2 separate regions of the Homo sapiens genome follow, and region 2 is linked to region 1. The links are contacts of gene promoters, found by promoter capture Hi-C in blood cells and fetal thymus (Javierre and others, 2016). All regions are on one chromosome and are shown on one strand. The core of a region is centred on a gene start or on the middle of the fragment in contact, and the rest is flanking DNA. Distances in the headings are between cores, read along the strand shown.

Evidence for each region. Contacts are between HindIII fragments. The CHiCAGO score rates a contact against its expected background, and 5 or more counts as called.
Region 2: a fragment that was not itself captured here is called in contact with the fragment with the promoter of MRPS23 in region 1 in 1 of 17 cell types (total CD8 T cells); the score reaches 5.4 in total CD8 T cells.

Annotation. Positions count from the first base shown.
Region 1 is chr17:57,845,713-57,852,743 of GRCh38, forward strand. It overlaps MRPS23 (mitochondrial ribosomal protein S23), which reads right to left and starts at 4,332. Exons shown (of 5, transcript NM_016070.4): 1 at 4,255-4,332; 2 at 3,528-3,698. The coding sequence starts at 4,298. RefSeq lists enhancers at 520-1,127, 4,313-4,642, 4,318-4,827. The HindIII fragment of the contact is 6,704 bases long and covers 3,083-7,031 here.
Region 2 is chr17:58,169,591-58,176,055 of GRCh38, forward strand. It overlaps OR4D2 (olfactory receptor family 4 subfamily D member 2), which reads left to right. Exons shown (of 2, transcript NM_001004707.4): 2 at 48-1,526. The coding sequence starts at 66. The coding sequence ends at 989. Among named protein-coding and RNA genes, the nearest start is that of OR4D2, 5.8 kb to the left of the region's middle. The HindIII fragment of the contact is 3,346 bases long and covers 1,654-4,999 here.

The DNA.
Region 1 (7,031 bases), core at 3,082-5,581:
TTCTCCAAACAGTCCCAGTCCTGGCCCTCCACCATTCCTCTCCAAGGAATTTTCTTTCGTTTCTCTCTACCAGCCTCATAGTTCATCTGTCCATTAATCCATTAGCTTCTTCATTCAAGAGACGATTAATAAGCAACTTATATGCCACACAATGGGCTAGGCACTGAAGTTACAAGAATGAATTTGACAATGCCTGGCCCATGACAGTGCTTAATGAATGTTTGTTATTGAATAAAGACAGGGCATTTGGAATGTAGAGCTATTAAAGACAGGCTAAGGCCACAACAGGGGCAGTATGAACAAAATTCAGGGCACACAAAAGGGGAAACATGAAAACAGAAAAGTAGTCCCAAAGAAGTGTGACATCTTTGTTTTTTTTTTTTGTATGAAAAAAATAAGGTGGGGGGCAGCCCCCACCCAGCCAGCCGCCCCGTCTGGGAGGGAGGTAGGGGGCAGTCCCTGCTCCGCCAGCCGCCCCGTCCGGGAGGGAGGTGGGGGGCAGCCCCCGCCTGGCCAGCCGCCCCGTCCGGGAGGGAGGTGGGGGGTAGCCACCGCCCGACCAGCCGCCCCGTCCGGGAGGGAGGTGGGGGGCACCCCCGCCCGGCCACTGCCCCGTCCGGGAGGTGGGGGGCACCTCTGCCCGGCCGCCCCGTCTGGGAAGTGAGGAGCCCCTCTGCCCGGCCGCCACCCCATCTGGGAGGAGTACCCAACAGCTCATTGAGAACGGGCCATGATGACGATGGGGGTTTTGTCGAATAGAAAAGGGGGAAATGTGGGGAAAAGAAAGAGAGATCAGATTGTTACTGTGTCTGTGTGGAAAGAGGTAGACATGGGAGACTCCATTTTGTTCTGTACTAAGAAAAATTCTTCTGCCTTGGGATGCTGTTAATCTATAACCTTACCCCCAACCCCCTGCTCTCTGAAACATGTGCTGTGTCCACTCAGGGTTAAATGGATTAAGGGCGGTGCAAGATGTGCTTTGTTAAACAGATGCTTGAAGGCAGCATGCTCGTTAAGAGTCATCACCACTCCCTAATCTCAAGTACCCAGGAACACAAACACTGCGGAAGAACGCAGGGACCTCTGCCTAGGAAAACCAGACACCCTTGTTCACATGTTTATCTGCTGACCTTCCCTCCACTATTGTCCTATGACCCTGCCAAATCCCCCTCTCCGAGAAACACCCAAGAATGATCAATAAATACTATAAAAAATAAAAAATAATAAAAATAAATTAAAAATAAAAAATAAAAAAAAGAAAAAATAGAGAACTTTAAAGATATTTTTAAGAATGTTGCTAGGAGGCCGGGCACGGTGGCTCACACCTGTAATCCCAACACTTTGGGAGGCAAGGCGGGCGGATCACGAGGTCAGGAGTTTGAGACCAGCCTGACCAACATGGTGAAACCCCATCTCTACTAAAAATACAAATTAGCCAGGCATGGTGGCGTGAGCCTGTAATCCCAGCTACTCAAGAGGCTGAGGCAGGAGAACAGCTTGAACCCGGGAGGTGGAGGTTGCATGGGGCTGAAATTACACCACTGCACTCCAGCCTGGGTGGCAGAGCGAGACTCCATCTCAAAAAAAAAAAAAAAGAATGTTCCTAGGCAACCATTAGGAGCACATTTTCTGTGACTATTTAAGTTTTGGAAAAAAAGAGAATAAAGAGGCCGGGCGCGGTGGCTCACGCCTGTAATCCCAGCACTTTGGGAGGCCGAGGCAGGCGGATCACGAGGTCAGGAGATTGAGACCATCCTGGCTAACACGGTGAAACCCTGTCTCTACTAAAAATACAAAAAATTAGCCAGCTGTGGTGGTGGGCGCCTGTAGTCCCAGCTACTCAGGAGGCTGAGGCAGGAGAATGGCATGAACCCGGAAGGCAGAGTTTGCAGTGAGCCGAGATTGCGCCACTGCACTCCAGCCTGGGAGACAGAGTGAGACTCCATCTCGAAAAAAAAAAAAATACTTAGATCAGAAAAAAACAAAACTTTTTTTTTTTTTGGAGACAGGGTCTCCCTCTGTTGCCCAGGCTGGAGTGCAGTGGTGCACTCTCAGCTCACTGCAACCTCCACCTTCTAGTTTCAAGCGATTCTCCCACCTCAGCATCCAAAGTAGCTGGGACTACAGGTGCCCACCACCAAGCCCGGCTAATTTTTGGTATTTTAGTCAAGACAGGGTTTCACCATATTGCCCAAGGTGGTCTCGAACTCCTGAGCTCAGGCAATCTGCCCACCTCAGCCTCCCAAAGTGCCAGGATTACAGGCGTGGGCCACCGTGCCTGGCCCAGAAAAAAAAAATTCTTAAATAATCATTATCAATACTGACAAGGATAAAGTAAGAACTCTCAGAAACTGCTAATCAGAGTGTAAACTAAGACAACTACTTTTTTTTTGGTAGAGACAAGTCCTGCTATGTTGCCCAGGGTGGTCTCAAACTCCTGGGCACAAGCTATCCTCCCTTATGCCTCCCAAAGCACTAGGATTACAGGCACAAGCCACCACATCCAGCCTGTGATTTCTTTTTATGCTTTCTTTGTGTATCTAAATTTTCTACAAGTAGCATGTGTTGCTTTTATAATAAAAGAGGAAGTATTCTTGCCACTGAGCTTAAGAAAAAGAAAAAAAAAGAGAAAAGGGATGCTAAAAAAAAATAAAGAACACATGATTTTCCTTCAAATTCCTAGTGATTGTCTCTCTCTGTCGCCCAGGCTGGAGTGCAGTGGTGGGATCTCGGCTCACTGCAACCTCCACCTCCCAGGTTCAAGCAATTCTCCTGTCTCAGCCTTCCGAGTAGCTGGGACTACAAGCACCCACCACCATGCCCGGCTAATTTTTGTATTTTTAGTAGAGACGGGGTTTCACCATGTTGGTCTGACTGGTCTCGAACTCCTGACTTCAGGTGATCCGCCCGCCTTGGCCTCCCAAAGTGTTGGGATTACAGGCGTGAGCCACCGCACCCGGCCTCTCTTAGACTTTCAAGCATCCTTTCATCTGAGTGGCTTCAAAGAGCCGGACTACTAGATCCACAGACCACGTTCCTCCTATCTCCACTCGTGGAGAAGGCCGGCATAATGATCACCATAAGCTTGGAGTCAGAGATGTGATTCCCAGATCTGCCACCCTCCTATATATTTAGTAATTACAAGAAGTTAGCTAATTTCCTTGAGCTTCGCAGTCTCCTTGAATAAAATGGAAACAAGAATGCCTTCCTTACAAGTTAGAGTAAGGCCTTTAGAGAATGAGATAATGCTTGCAAAGAGCTTAGTACAGTGCCTGGCCCAAAGCAGATGCCCAGAAACATGCGGCTATAATTGCAATGATCTTTCGGTTGCTGGGCTCCAGATTCCACTTTTCAGAACTTCAGTTTCACTATGAGGAAGGGGTGCTGCCTCCCTAATTTGGCTAGATAAGCCTTCTCCACAGGGCAAACCCCTGACTCAATTTCATGTTTGAATTCCCAGACTGCTACCGAAACCTTCCCTTCTGAAGTTCTGTTGCCTCCTGTCCACTACAGGGCTGAGCACTCACGCTCTAATCCGATCCTCGTGGTACCAGATGTCTTGGATGGGAGCTTTGGCTTTGCCATATCGCACTCGAGGCCTTTGGAAGACGGGCTCCCTCAGCGGGGGAAAGGCGTCATATACGTCAAACCACAGGGGCTTCTCCTTCAGCACCCCGGCCCGAACCAGGTCCCGAGTCCTTAGGGAGGGAACAGAACGAAACTGGGTCACTTGCAGTAGCCTGCCAAAGCCCCTGAATCAGTCTAGCACAGTTTGGGACATTAAAGGTATTATGCGGTCTGCAACACAGAACGGGGAAGGACTGCTCCCCACCTACAGAGAAGATCTGTCCACATCCCAAACCAAACTTAACAACGCTCAGGAGAGTTAAATCCCTCTATCTTCTTTTGTGCGTCCCACCCACGTTCGGTCACGGAAAAATGCAAAGAGCGGTCTTGCATGACCTGATAAGGAAGGCCCATCAGGCTCTTCCTCCCTTCCTCTTCCTAGAGACCTCCACTCGGGGAGAGGCAGCTGCAATAATCTTTAACATGACACATAAATTCAAGGAGAGGCATCCTCAGGCACAACTATTCGGAGCCAGGAGAAAACATGAGAGGGCCTCACCCAGCTCAGCCCCCGCACCCTGCAATACGCCTCGCCCTGCTCAGGTCCGCTCCAAGGAAGAGCGTGACCGGCTGAGAACCCCAGCCTGGGGGAGGCACCCTCAGCCCACCACGGCTGGGAGCACACACCGAGAGAAGATGCTCCCTACGGTTTCCAGCCGGCTGCCTGCCATGATCTGCGCCTGGTACCGAGCGTGACTAGCTGCTACCGGAACCGGAAGCGGCTGCTCCAGGTAAAGGGCGCATAAGTTGCTGGCCGAGCCAAGGATCGCTGGGCTTTCACCGCAGCCCCTGCGGGAGAGCGGCGCAGGCAGAAGCAAGTGATAGGCCGAACGGGCGCGCTCCGAGGTTACTTGCCAGGTTCAGGCAGGAGCACTCGATAGCCGAGCCAAAAGGGCAGGAGCGAGCCAAAGCCGGACAGAAGTAATAAATGACCGAGCTGTGGGAGGGATTCATCATGATGGTTGCTTTACTCTCTCTCGCCTTGTTGAGCCAACTCCTCTGAAAAGGTGGGGCCGCGCGGAGGAGAAGTAGTGGGGCAGAGCAGGGGTGAAGCGCAGCCTACAGTCCTAGGGGAGCCAACAAAGGCCGAGATTTGAGGTCACCAGCTCTAGGCCCAGGCTGAGCCTAATGTTGTTTAGAGTCACAGACTACGCAGAAGAAAACCAAGGCCGGGGAGGGGCCGTCACTTGCCCAGCGTCGTGCTAGATCTCGGGCCTCCGCCTCTGGCTGTGTAGTGCTCCCCACTAAGCCCCTCGTCCCCGGAGTGCCACCTGCATCCACGCTAACTAGGATGCTGGCTGCAACTCGTGTTTCCCGCGGCCGGTGTCGCGGGCTACCTCCTCCTTGGAACTCGAAAAGTGAAAGTGTCCGGAACAAACAGACGCCGAGAGGGAAACGAAAAAATCTGGAGAAAGTCATCTCTCAGTGTTAAACTGTAAAAAAATATAAACTGTGTGTAGCATACCCTTTGACCCAGTAATCATATTTCGGGGAAAGAACCCCTTAGAAATTAAAGCATCAATTCATGAGGATGTTTGTGCAAGGATCATCGTTGCAGCATTGTTTGTAGTGGGAAAAAAAATCCATCAGATGAGAAATAGCTGGAAAATTATTGTTCATACTTTCTTTGGAACCCTATGCAGCTATTAAAATGAATGAGCTAGATCCACATGTATTTACCAAGGTTAAGGTACATGACTTATGTTTAAATGAAAAACGAAGTTGCAAAGAAACATGTTTAGTGGAATCTCAACGTGTTAGAAAAAAAAAAGGAAAAAGAAACACCTCTATATATGTTTGTGTTTGAGGATAGAAATTCTGCAGAAGGACACCCAAGGCTGTGAACATTGGATATCTCGGAGTGAAACTGCAGGCAGGCAAGGGAGAATTTTTTCTTCCTTTACACATGCTTCAGAGTTTGACTTGTAAAGAGATTGTATTCATATTTGAACTTTTAATCCAATGAATGTTTTGAATCACACACAATGTCTCCTGGGAGCCTAGTCAAGTCATCCTAGAGTCCTCCCACTCTGAGGCTGGTGAAGGGGAGGACGGGACTGTTTGATGAGTAGTTACTGCTTGTGTGTGTTATCTTACTGAATCCACATACCTTCCCATAAGGTAGCTATTAACATCCTCATTATAGATGAGAAAGCAAGGCCTCAGGAAGTTACATAACTTGTCTGATAAGCAACTGATAGAGCCAGCCTTGGGGGGGTGGGGCAGCCAGGGCCCTTTCCAGTGCCTCACAATGCCGCCTAAGCTATGCCTAAAGCTCGAGGCTGGTAGGCTCAAGAGTCCAGCAGAACGCCGCTCCCCACCCGCCCCCCCCACAACACACACACACACACACACACACACACACACACACACGCACGCCAGGGATCCAGTGATTTGAGGCCCAGGGCTAACCTGAGGTGGATTTCACTGCTGCCTCCAGACCCTCTGGAACAGAGAAGAGAGAGCACAGCTCTGGCCCCAGGCCAGGTGTAAAGGCTCTAGTATCCCAGCCCTCAGGAGGTCTAAAAGACCTTGCTCTGGGGAGAGTAAACATGCTCCCAGCTAAATATAGTCTTCCCAGGCCTCATAACAACTTTCTAATTCTGTCCCAGCCAGCAAGCACTATCTGCCAGCCCAGATTACAGGCACACTTCTCTTCTCCCACCAGGAACTGCTACTGTAGGTTAGTGCAGTCACTGCAGCTAAAGAGTTAAAGGGTTTATTCCAAGATCAAGGAGGGGAACCAAAGACGCAAACCCTCAATAGGGGAAGAACTGCAAGGCAGAAATGTTCTCGCTAATCTTGGGGTGGTCCCTTCCTCTTCCAAGCCTTTGAAGTTTCCCTTTCCAGCCTGCTTCTGTGACTGAGAGCAGAATATTGGTGGGCAGACTTGGGGGTACTTTGGGGATAACAGCCTTCTGAGGCTACACAAGAAGTACACACCCAAGAAACATTCATTCATAATACAGGAGCAAGCTGTCGGGCAGCAGGGGGCAGGCAGAATGGACATTTGAGGCTGTCTTCTTGAGTGGGGACCACAGCCGCCCAAGGCTGTGAGGGCCTGGGGCACTTACACCACGCACCACTGTGCCGCGGGAGGTACCAAGGAACCTCAAGTGTCTCATTCAGTTGTTCAACCACCTGCTGACATAGGTAATGTCCTGCTAATCTTACAGATAAGGAAGTGGTGCTTGTAAACTCCCAAAGGCCATGTTCCTACAACACCACTCGGCCTCATATTAATCCCACTGTCTCATTGTAGACGTGCCCACTAATTGCTTCACTCTGAGCAAGTTATGTAACTTTTCGAGCCTCTGTTTCTCCAACTGTTAAAATGTGGAGCTGGGCTCAGTGGCTCATGCTTGTAATCCCAACATTTTGGGAGGCCAGTGTGGGAGGATTGC
Region 2 (6,465 bases), core at 2,077-4,576, 320 kb after region 1:
GAAAGTAGTGACTTCATGTATCTGTGTCTGTGGTTCATTTTCTTCAGGTGTATGGAGAAAACACCATGGAAACAGGGAACCTCACGTGGGTATCAGACTTTGTCTTCCTGGGGCTCTCGCAGACTCGGGAGCTCCAGCGTTTCCTGTTTCTAATGTTCCTGTTTGTCTACATCACCACTGTTATGGGAAACATCCTTATCATCATCACAGTGACCTCTGATTCCCAGCTCCACACACCCATGTACTTTCTGCTCCGAAACCTGGCTGTCCTAGACCTCTGTTTCTCTTCAGTCACTGCTCCCAAAATGCTAGTGGACCTCCTCTCTGAGAAGAAAACCATCTCTTACCAGGGCTGCATGGGTCAGATCTTCTTCTTCCACTTTTTGGGAGGTGCCATGGTCTTCTTCCTCTCAGTGATGGCCTTTGACCGCCTCATTGCCATCTCCCGGCCCCTCCGCTATGTCACCGTCATGAACACTCAGCTCTGGGTGGGGCTGGTGGTAGCCACCTGGGTGGGAGGCTTTGTCCACTCTATTGTCCAGCTGGCTCTGATGCTCCCACTGCCCTTCTGTGGCCCCAACATTTTGGATAACTTCTACTGTGATGTTCCCCAAGTACTGAGACTTGCCTGCACTGACACCTCACTGCTGGAGTTCCTCAAGATCTCCAACAGTGGGCTGCTGGATGTCGTCTGGTTCTTCCTCCTCCTGATGTCCTACTTATTCATCCTGGTGATGCTGAGGTCACATCCAGGGGAGGCAAGAAGGAAGGCAGCTTCCACCTGCACCACCCACATCATCGTGGTTTCCATGATCTTCGTTCCAAGCATTTACCTCTATGCCCGGCCCTTCACTCCATTCCCTATGGACAAGCTTGTGTCCATCGGCCACACAGTCATGACCCCCATGCTCAACCCCATGATCTATACCCTGAGGAACCAGGACATGCAGGCAGCAGTGAGAAGATTAGGGAGACACCGGCTGGTTTGAGAGTGACAATGGTAGGTTTCTTCTCTTTGGCTTTGTTTTCCCTTTGTGAAGTGGAGAGGGAGCTACTACCTTTGCTCTCTTCATAGTGTGTTGAGGTTCATCATAGCAGGGAATGAATTTTGAAACTAAGCAACTTCGTGTTTTAGGAAAAAAGAAAGTATCCTCTTTGGTGGTTAAGGTTTGTGATAAAGAGTTTTAACACACTCGCAACAATGAGAATTGTTCACATGGCCCCTGAAAACCACACCTTCCTTTTCACCTTCTTGGTGGACAGTTTCCTGTTGACAGCATTTCCCCTGTGCGAACATTTCTATTTTCCGTATTTTGAGCTCTCTTCCCAATATTTCCTTTTGGTGTGAGTCTGGGTTGTTGGGAACAGCACAGAATTTGGAGTCTTAAGCTCTAAATTAGAGGCCCTGACCCATCATTGACCAAACTGATGACTTCGAGTAAGCCACCCAGCTTTTCTTGGCCTCATGATTTCTCCCTCACCAATTTGCTTAAATTAGTATGTGCCCCTAAAATATTCTATGTTTGTTATGAGATTCAAATAAAAAAATTTTGTGATAAAACAACAAGTAAATCATATAACTATATGTTATCTTCCAAGCTTTTAAAAATGATTGTATTTTATTTTCAAATATGAAATTATTATGAGTATTCAAGCTTTTTCTCTCTATATTTACATTTTAATATAATATACAAATTTTGAATAAAAGATCATGGGCAATGCATGCACATTATGAAACTTATGTCATTATGTATAAATGCTCATGTATACACTACTCGATTCAAGAACCAGAAGTTACCAATAACTTGCCTTCACCTGTATTGTCCTCTCCATTGTGTTCACCTTGATTCCTATCCAGAAGAAATCACTCTGTTGAATTTCATGTTTATCACTTCATTGCTTGTATAAAATAGTTTCATCACTTTTTTTACATAAACAGTATATTGTTTTGCTACTTTGGAGTTTTATAAAGATATTGTACTGTACATAATATTCTGGGATTTGCTTTTTTCACTCCATGTTATGTTTCTAACATAACATGTTGATGTTTGGCTCTAATTCATTCATTTGCTCTGCTGTAGAATATTCCACTGTGAAAATAAGTTTATTTGGGTTGTTTCCAGGTTTTGGCTATTGGAGAGTGCTTTTTTTGAGACGAAGTTTCACTCTGCTGCCGAGGCCGGAGTTCACTCATCACCACACCCAGCTAAGTTTTGCATTTTCAGTAGAGATGGGGTTTCTCCATGTTGGAGTTGTGACCATTATTGCCTAAACTATTTTTACTGCGCCTTTCTCTCCTCTTCTTCCAGGATTCTCATTATGTGTGTGTCTTGGTATCCTTGATGGTGTCTCACAGGCTTCTGAGCCTATGTTCATTTTCGTTTATTCTTCTTTTTGCTCCTTAGACTGGATGATTTCAATTGACCTATAATATCTCTAGACCTCTGATTCCGAAATGCCATCATAGAGGAAAATTGGATTCACTCCCCGACTTCCACAGAACCAAAAACAAATATATAGCACTGAGATCTACACCAGAAACAACCCAGAGCTCAAGTATAAGAGTGAGACAGTTCTTGGGGCCACAGAGGGATGAAAAAAGTCCAAGCAGCTGATAGGAGAATCAGACTTCCACATCTGGGACACCCCTCATCCCCATTCTGTCCAGCACCAAGTGCCAAAAAATCTCCTCCCAACTACAGTTTCTACACTGGAAAAACTGAAATTGAGGTGGCCCACCAGCTTCCTTACCTTCTTGGGGTCCCTGGCAGGAGAACTGTTCTTGCCTTAATCCACAGATAGCATCATGACTGCCTGAAAGAAGAAATGTCCCCGAAGAAAGGCAGAGAAATTCTGCTCTGTAACTCAGCCAAAGGAGACACCAACTCAGAGTTGCTGTCCAGCAGCACCATGCTGTAGGAGGCATGTTCCCCAGGTCCCCTGGGCACAAACCCCTAGCCAGACTTCCCACACTGCCAGGATAATCTCTTTGGGATCTCCTTGATTTGAGACAGGAAGTGCTTCAACCATTTACTAGTCCTGAGGTGAACCTGGGCTTAAGGCACCACCTAGAGTCGAATAGAGGCAGTGACCTAGCAGTGAAGATTCAATAAGCAAATGTATTCAATAAAAACCAAAACAAGCTGTACAGAGAAAACTGGAAAGATGGATACATACCCACAAGAAACAACAGCAAACAGGGAACTATGACTTCCTCAAAAGGAAAAAGCAAAAATCCAGTCACTGATCCTAACAAGATGGTGATTAGTGAGCTCTCTGACCAAGAATTCAAAATAGGAGTTTCAAGGAAACTCACTGATCTCCAAGAAAACACAGAAAAGCAATTTAGAAATTTAACAAAGAGACTGAAATGATTCCAAAATGTCAAACAGAAATCTTGGAACTCAACTAACCTATCTTCAGATTCATTGATTTTATTTTTATTTTTTAAGACAGTCTCACTCTGTTGCCCAGACTGGAGTGCAATGGTGTGATCTTGGCTCACTGCAACCTCCGCCTTCCAGTTTCAAGCAATTCTCCTGCCTCAGCCTCCTGAGTAGCTGGGGCTACAGGCGCGTGTCACCACACCCAGCTAATTTTTGTATATTTAGTAGAGACAGGGTTTTACCATGTTGGCCAGGCTGGTCTTGAACTCCTGACCTCGTGATCAACCCGCCTCGGCCTCCCAAGGTGCTGGAATTACAGGTGTAAGCCACCAGGCCCAGCTGATTCTTTCTTCTACCTACTCGAAAGCTCCTATTGAAACCGTCCTGTGAACTTTTCATTTCAGTTACTTTTATTGTACTTTTCAGCTCCAGACTATTTCTTATTTTAAATCAATTTCTCTCTCTTTTTTGATATTTTCTATGTAAAACATTCTTCTTCCTTTAATTCTTTACCCATAGTTTACTCTATGTTCAAGAAAGTTGCTTTAAAGTCTTTGTCTAGTTAAGTCAAATGTCTGTTTTTTCTCAGGAAGTTTCTGCTAATTTCTTTTCTTCCCTTGAAAGGGCCATACTCTCTTGTTTGTTTGCATGTCTCATAATATTTTGTGAAAACCGCACATTTTAAATATTATAATGTTGTAGGAGTGGAAATAATTTTCTTCCTGCTCCCTATTATTTGTTGTTTTTTCTTGCTGTGAGTTGCAGTTGTTTGTTTAGTGACTTTTAAAACTTTTTTTTTTGTCAAATATGGCCTCTGAAATCTGTTTCCTTAGTTCATAGTCATCTAATGGCTTTACAGTAACTTTGTTAAATGCCTGTAGACAAATGATATGGCTTGGACCTGTGTCCCATGAAATCTCATGTGGAATTATAATCCCCAGTGTTGGAGGTGATGCCTGGTGGGAGGTGATTAGATCATGGGGATGAATTTCTCACGAATAGTTTAGCACCATCCTTCCCTTGGTACTGACCTTGCAATAGTGTGTGAGTTCTCATGAGATCTGGTCATTTAAAAGTGTGTGGTGCCTCCCTCTTACTCTCTCTTCCTCCTGCTCCAGCCATGTGAAGTGCCTGCTCCCACTTCACCTCCCACCATTATTGTAAGTTTCCTGAGGCCTCCCCAGAAGCCAAACAGATGCCAGCATTATGCTTCCTGTACAGCCTGCACAATCATGAGCCAATTAAACCTCTTTTCTTTATAAATTACGAGTCTTAGTCTCAGATATTTCTTTATAGCAATATGAGAATGAACTAATACAACAAAGAAATGAAAAAGAAAGAAAATATACTCTCCCAGTCTTTCCAGATTGGCTCTGTGTTTGGATACTCCCTCAACACTTAACAAGGATGTTTACAGCTCTGCCTTAGCCTTCACTTTCTGCTTGCATTGGGCCTAAAGATTAGCCAGAACTTATATCTTAGGACTGTCCCAAGTCTGTGTTTTCATCCTGCCCTTATATGCAGAATGTGGCATTCTAGATTTCATAGTATATACAGGAACTTTCCAAAGTTCTTATTCACCAAAGTATCTCTGTTCCTAACTTTTCCTCTCAAGCTTTTGGTGTGTGTTTGATTGCCCCAGGTGGCAGAGGCGTGCTCATTTGATTTTCAGTGTTTTTGAGGAATACTTTTTACGTAGCCACTTTTCTGCCCATAGTGAATTCTGAGTTAGGTAAAACAAAGGCAAGCTCCTCACATCAGTCCTTCAGGAACCCCCAGACATTTCAAAACAGACAATACAATCCTAGGGAACAAGGTTCATTCTGCTCCTTCCGGAACCAGGGACTCACACCAGGAACATACATTGCCATCTTCAAGACCACCAAGCTGGGAGGAGTGTGGAACAACAATAAGTTAAAAGTTTTCCTACTGTGTTTCAGTCACCTTTTGAAACAAAGTTCATTTAGTTGCTATTTGACTATTTTCTTTGACAATTTTCCAGAATTCCAACAAGGTTGATTCTGATCACTTCTGCTTTTATTTTTTTTTTTTCCTTTCTATGGAGAGATGAGCCCTCGGATTCCCAGACTGCTATTTTTATGACATCATCATATTTAAGATAATAATTTATGTAATTCACTTCTCTATGCAACCAGTCTTTCCTAGTCACTCCATATCTGTTTCCATTCCTTCACCAGATACTTTCCTCACTCCGCTTGGGCTCTGATATCCTGCTTCAGGCCAGCGCCCTTCCCAGCCACTTTTCTTACCCCACACATGCTCCAACATCCCACATCAGGACACTTTCCATGCTCCTCCTCATTTTGCTTGAGCTCCAACACCTGATGTCCAACTGCACCTCTGTGTGGATGCATTTCTTAGCCCTCCCATGCTCTGACTCCCCATAGTGAGTCAGCCCTTGCTGGGATACCCTCTTCACCTTGCTTTAACACCCACAATGGGCAGCTCACAGGAGTAGACACCCAGGCTCTGACAACCCATGCTGGGCCACATCCTATGGACACCTTATTCACACTATTTTTGTTCTACATTAAGAGGAGATTTCTCCAACTCTGATTTCCAACATTTTTATTAAAGTTTTTATTTTTTAAATCAAATTTTAGTTTTCAAGAACTCTTGCATGTTCTCCTTTTTATGCCATTCTATTCTTATTTTGTGGATATTATATTTTCTTTCTTCTCTCAAATGATACTAATTTCATAAGCTGAAGTTTTTTTAAGTTCTCTTTTGCTTTCTGTGTCACTTCTGTTTTCTTCTTATTTATTTATTATTTTGTACTGGAGACCTTTCTTAAACTCTCAGTGATCTTTGGTTAGCTACATTTAAGAGTAAGGCAATAAAATGCTGATTTGAACCTCTATATATGGGAAGAGTTTTCAAACTTTACTTTTTTTTTTTTTTTTGAAACAGGATCTTACTCTGTCACTCAGGCTGCAGTACAGTGGTGCAATCATGACTTACTGCAGCCTTGACCTCCTGGACTCAAGTAATCCTCCCACCTTAGCCTCTCGAATAGCTGGGGCTACAGGTGCACACCACCATGCCCAGCTAATTATTT